2 separate regions of the Homo sapiens genome follow, and region 1 is linked to region 2. The links are contacts of gene promoters, found by promoter capture Hi-C in human tissues and cell types (Jung and others, 2019). All regions are on one chromosome and are shown on one strand. Each heading gives the region's core, a stretch centred on a gene start or on the middle of the fragment in contact. The rest is flanking DNA. Distances are from core to core; before and after follow the strand shown.

Region 1 (2,765 bases), core at 111-2,610, 1.0 Mb before region 2:
CTCCTCAGAGGGGACAGACTCACAGACATCCCTTGAGGACTCACCCCAGACAAGTCCCCTTGCCTCCCTCTAGCTGAGAGGCCCCTTCAGTCGCACCAGCCTCCAGGAGCACTGGGCCAGGGCCCAGCTGGAGGGGTAGCTGGGAGCTCTGGTCAGTCCCAGTGAGACGTCACCATGGAGCACTGGTTTTACATTCTGCCTCTGCTGGGAGGATGAGAACTGTCGACCTGCCCCTGGCTCCAGAAAACTCCTGGAAGACCCGATCTTCACCCATGCAGAATAGCAAGAGTGGGCGTCAGAACCAGGGCACAATAAATGGTGTGATTGGCTCCATCCCTCCAGGCTCTCATTGTGGAAAGACCTGTCGGCACAGACCCCTCCAGAGGTCTCGCTCGCAGGCAGGCAGACACCCACCTGCAGCTCAGGAACATACACAGCTCTCCCCTCGGGTACGAGGGCCAGTGTTGCCCTTAGGCAGAATCCTCGGGGAGATTCGGGAGTGCTTCCTTGTCTTGGATTCCAGGAAAATGGACCCTGAGATGAGGATTTAAGGATCAGTGTGTTTGGTGCTGATCCAGGAACCTCTGCTGGGGGAGTAGGAGGCGAATCTGCAAAGGGAATAAAGAGTATGTTGTCAAGCAAATTTTCTTTTTTTTAATTTTTAAAACTTCATTGTATTTTATGTTTAGAGATGGGGCCTCACTACATTGCCCAGGCTGGTCTCAAACTCCTGGGCTCAAGTGATCCTCTTGCCTTGGCCTGCCAAAGTGCTGGGATTGCCTTTTCCGCCCACCCCCCCCGACCCCACCAGAGACAGGGTCTCACTCTGGTGTCCAGGCTGGAGTGCAGTGGTGCAATCATAGCCTTAAATTCCTGGGTTCAACCAATCCTCCCACCTCAGCCTCCTAAGTAGCTGGGACTACAGTTATGCACCACCATGCTCAGCTTATTATTTATTTATTTTTTGTAGACATGGGGTCTTGCTATGTTGCCCAGGCAGGCTGATCTCAAGCTCAAGTGATCCTCTGGACTCAGCCTCCCAAAGTGCTGGGATTATACGTATGAGCCACTGTGCCCCACCCTCATACAAATTTCCATGTTGGCAACTGTAGCTGGATCTTTCTGGAGATCTCTGAAAGACAGCATGGAATCCTTGAACACCCCCTGAGGCGTGAGGCATCCAGAGCATTTATCTGCCAACCCTCAGGAGCTGGCACTCGTAGACAGCACGCACAGCCAGCTCCATTGGTCTTGGCAAAGAGAATTGCCTCCTGGAGCCAGAGGCCGGTTCCTGTGCTTAGAAAGGAAGGACATGTCTTCTGTGCTCCCTGTCTCACAAGGCCTCTTCAGCAGGCATGGGACCTTCATTCTCAAGTTCAAGGAACCCTGTGGAACCTTGTCCTTGTCCTCCAGAGAGAATCCTCTCCGCCTTAGAGGTCCCTCCTCTCTCTCACCTCCCCACCAAGCCTCCCTGAACTCAATGTCTTCTGTCCCCTTCCCTGCCCAACTTCCACTTCTCTATGCCCAGCCTCTGTGGCCCAGTACCATTGGGGTTCTGTGGGCAGCTGGGTCCTGGTGGTTGGGGACCGTGGGAAGGGGCCTATCTGTCGGATCTTAGATGGAGCATCCAGAAGCCCCACCCTTCATACTGGCCAGAGTGGCCCCTGCCAGCGCCTCTCTGGAGTGTCATTAAGCTGAAAGTGTTTGCCTTACCTCTGCAGTAGGATGCATTACTGAAGTGGCCTCTTGGTCACCTAGCTCTGAATTTTCCTGGCTCCAGAAAGAGGCTGTGGGGCACAGGTCCCCCACAATGAGGCTGTGAAGGGGAGAGAGGCAGGCCTGGGCCAGGCACAGGAGGACAACTAGGGCTTCTCAGGAGCTGTCTCAGCCAAGAGTCACACACTTGATACCTAAAATGGCTTCAGGAATCTTCCAAGACTGAAGACTTCCCCAGGTGTGGTCTAGGGCCTGCCTGCCTCAGAGCCATGAGCAGAGCCGGTCAAAAGGCTTCCTAGGGAATCCTACCCCAGACATTAAAATAGACTCTTGGTGCTGGCAGGTGGCTGGAATCTGCGTTTGTAGCCAAGTGCTCTTCCTGTGTGACTCAGCAAAGTGGGGGTGCATTTGGGGAACACCCGGGGCTGGGGCCTGAGTCCTCCACCCAAAGCCAGGTTTGATTCTTGCATTCCCCTCCCTGCCTTCCATCCAGACAGGCCCAAAGATGCAAGAGGCGTTGATCAGCCCATCTCCATCCATGCCTGTTGCCTCAGAGAGGGCCGACGGCTTTTAAAATGCTGTTGCCATAGCAACAGCATCCAGCCAGTGGGTACCACAGGCAGGGAGCCACAGAAACTGGGGTGCTGGGATGGAAACTGACTTGTGAGAGACCACAGCTACTGCTAGAAGGAAGGGGGGCAAAGCGGGCACAGGTAATCTAAGAATACTTGGGCGGGAGGAGTCCCCAAGGTTACCTTGTGCATCCCTCTGTCCCCAGAAAGAACTGTACCCCAACAATCTCTCCCCTCACTGCATCCCCTGGGGAAGAAGGGAATGCAGAAATGAAATGTCATAATGAGTAACAATGTATAAAAATATCGAATAATAACAGCTAACATTTCTTTTGCATTTTCTTTGTGCCTAGCTTTGAGCTAAATCCTCTAAAAGCTTTACAGGGCTTGTTGAATTTTTTTTACAACATTATGAGGACTGATTCCACCCTATTTTACTGAGGACAAAGCTGAAACTCAGAGAGATTTGGAGGTACC
Region 2 (2,822 bases), core at 309-2,808:
GTGTTGAGAATAAACAATACTGTGTGGAGAACAGACCATGCAGGTGCAAGGACAGAGCAGGGGACACCAGTTGGGAGACTACCGCCATAATCCAAGCCAGAAGATGATGGTGGCCCAAACCAGGGCAACAGCAGTGAACATGATGAGAAGTGATGAGAGTTAGTCTGGCTAGAATTCAAAGTCAAAGCCTATCAGAAACTGCTAATGGACAGAAAGACCTAAGAGAGAGCGGAGTCAAGATACTAATGCTGAATCCCCAATGCCTTGTGCACAGGCGGGTACCCAATATATGAAGATCTAGTGAATGGCTGCGACTAGCATTTTCCCACCTAGACCGTAAATTCCCCTAAAACAGCACCTGTGTCAGAATCCTAATCTTCTCACTCCATGTTAACGAGAGCAGTAACTTTTCTGACTAAAAGTTGAGCACTTAATATGTTAGGTATGCCCACGCTATGCTGTGCTTTGCACACACCAAATCATTAAATCCTCACAACATCTAAGCAAGGTGGCTATTTTCTGCATTTCACAGACCAGGAAAGTAAGGCTCAGAAGTAGTTACCTGCCCTAGGACACATCACTGAAAATCAAACTTCAGGCAATTTGAATCCAAAGTCTGCTTTTAACCACTTTACTATCCTGAACTTCTCAAATAATGAAACGGTGAGCCACTGACTCATTCATGTGTCACCCTGGGCAAGTAAGTTCCCTTCCGTGGGATTCCAACTTCTCATCTGTCAAATGGTAGTAACAAGAGTACATGCTTCCAAAGTTACGATGAGGCTACATGAAATTCCACCCTGCACAGCGTCTACTCAGTAACTTCCAATGCAGTTAACTTAGTTCTTACCTAGGGCCATGCACTGTTCTAAACTAAGCACGAAGATTATTTCACTTAATAAAGCAACTCAACGAGGCAGATAACGTGACTAATTTGACTAACTTATTTTACAGATGAGAAACTGAGGTGTAGAGGGGTTAAGTAACCTGCTTTGGGTTACACAATGAATACGTGGCCGACTGCAAGTTTGCACCTAGAGTGTCACTTGAGAACTTATGCTCCAGGCTCCCAGAGAGAAGTGAGGGTTTTCTTTGCCCCTTTCACTGAATGGGAAACTACAGCACAAAGAAGGACAATCTGCCCAAAACCTCACACGGAGTAAGGGGCAGCGCCGGGACCAGAACCTTAGGCCGCCTGGCCCAGAAGCCCGCGCGAGTGAAATGAATGAGGCCAGACCTAGGCTAAGCGCGTCCGCGGTCCCCACGGCTGAGCCTCGGGGCGACCCGTAGCTCCGCGCTGCACCCCTCCCCCAGGCACCAACCCCGCCAGGTCGCGGGCACTCCCACCAGCTCGCAGCCCTCCTTCGGACCCTCGATCCGAGAGCGCCCCAGCCAGAGCTTGTGCCCATGCCCCTGTCCCGCAGGGGAAGGGGATCCCGCCTGGCCGGCTCTCGAGCGGCGACTAGTAACCTCCCGCGGGCGACAGCCCTCTCCCCAAAGCCACGCGCAACTCCTCACCCGGCGGCGCCATTCCTCCGAGCAGGTCCCGCCGGAGTCCGAGCCGCGGGCTGACTTCCGCTCGGGAAAGTGGCTCCAAGAGCCCGCCACAGGGGACGCCAGGGACTCGCGGCAGGCTCTGCGGGCCAGGATGAGTTCTAAGCACAGGTCAGTGTCCGCGGCCCCGCTGAGCTTCGACGCTTCCAGCAGCCGCGGCCGGGATCCCAGTCCTCCCGCTCACAGGGCCTTGCAGTTCCCGAGGACAGACCCGCCTCTCCCCCGCGCCCAGGCCCACTTGGAACCGACCGTCTCGCAACGCTCCTATTCCGGGAGCTACCGGGACGCGGTTGGGCCAGGCCTCGGGGTGGGCCCGAGACGGGGCCGCTTCTGATTGGCCTGTCTGCTGTCACTCACTCGTCTTTCTGCTGCCCGGCCCATTTTAAAGGAACAGGAAGGGTCTCGTCGGGAGGGGATAGCTTAGAAGGGATTTTTTTTTCCTCTTTAGAAAATTGTGGCAGTTTCTGGCCGGGCGCAGTGGCTCACGCCTGTAATCCCAGAACTTTGGGAGGCCGAGGCGGGCGGATTACCTGAGGTGAGGAGTTCGAGATCAGCCTGGGCAACACGGTGAAACCCCGTCTCTACTAAAAATACAAAATTAGCCGGGCGTGGTCACACATGCCTGTAATCCCAGCTACTCGGGAGCCTGAGGCAGGAGAATCGCTTGGACCTGGGAGGCGGAGGATGCGGTGAGCCAAGATCGCGCCATTGCACTCCAGCCTGGGCAACGAGTAAATCTCCGTCTCACCAAAAAAAAAAGAAAAAGAAAATTATGTCAGTTTTTTCCAAAGATTATCAGTGGGGTTGTTAATAACTGACCTACGAGTGACGTTTTATCTGATTTGCAGAGCAATGCAGTGACTCATAGAGAACATATTAGGCCAGTTTTACAGGCTCAACATGGAGGTGGCTCATCCAGGAACACCGCTCTAATAACTAGCGCCAACTACTGAATGTTTACAGTATAACCCGACACTGTGCCGAACGCTCTACAAGCATTATTTCTTTTCTTTCCTTTTTTATTGATACGGGATCTTGCTCTGTCGCCCAGGCTGGAGTGCAGTGGTGCGATCACAGCTTACTGCAGCCTCGACATCCTGGGCTCAAGCAATCTTCCCTCCCGCCTCAGCCTCCGGAGTAGCTGGGACTGCTGCCTTGCGACACCACGCCCAGCTAATCTTTAAAATTATTTTTGGTAGATACCGCGTCTCGCTTTGTTGCCCAGGCTGGTCTGGAACTCGGGCTCAAAGGATCCTTCGGCCTTAGCC

What was found. The method cuts DNA at HindIII sites, captures the fragments that hold promoters and counts their contacts. A contact is called where the count stands out against the background at its distance.
Region 1: a contact is called between a fragment that was not itself captured here and the fragment with the promoter of RPN2 in region 2, in 1 of the 25 tissues and cell types used here (dorsolateral prefrontal cortex).

The regions. Positions count from the first base shown.
Region 1 is chr20:38,210,350-38,213,114 of GRCh38, reverse strand. KIAA1755 reads left to right here. Exons shown (of 14, transcript NM_001029864.2): 14 at 1-2,612. The coding sequence ends at 73. Among named protein-coding and RNA genes, the nearest start is that of TGM2, 46 kb to the right of the region's middle. The HindIII fragment of the contact is 7,984 bases long and covers 1-2,765 here.
Region 2 is chr20:37,178,066-37,180,887 of GRCh38, reverse strand. It overlaps RPN2 (ribophorin II), which reads right to left and starts at 1,558. Exons shown (of 17, transcript NM_002951.5): 1 at 1,519-1,558. The coding sequence starts at 1,531. It overlaps MROH8 (maestro heat like repeat family member 8), which reads left to right and starts at 1,340. Exons shown (of 25, transcript NM_152503.8): 1 at 1,340-1,499; 2 at 1,501-1,665. The coding sequence starts at 1,408. RefSeq lists a silencer at 1,283-1,332 and enhancers at 883-1,440, 1,453-1,502, 1,853-1,932, 1,441-2,000. The HindIII fragment of the contact is 12,130 bases long and covers 1-2,822 here.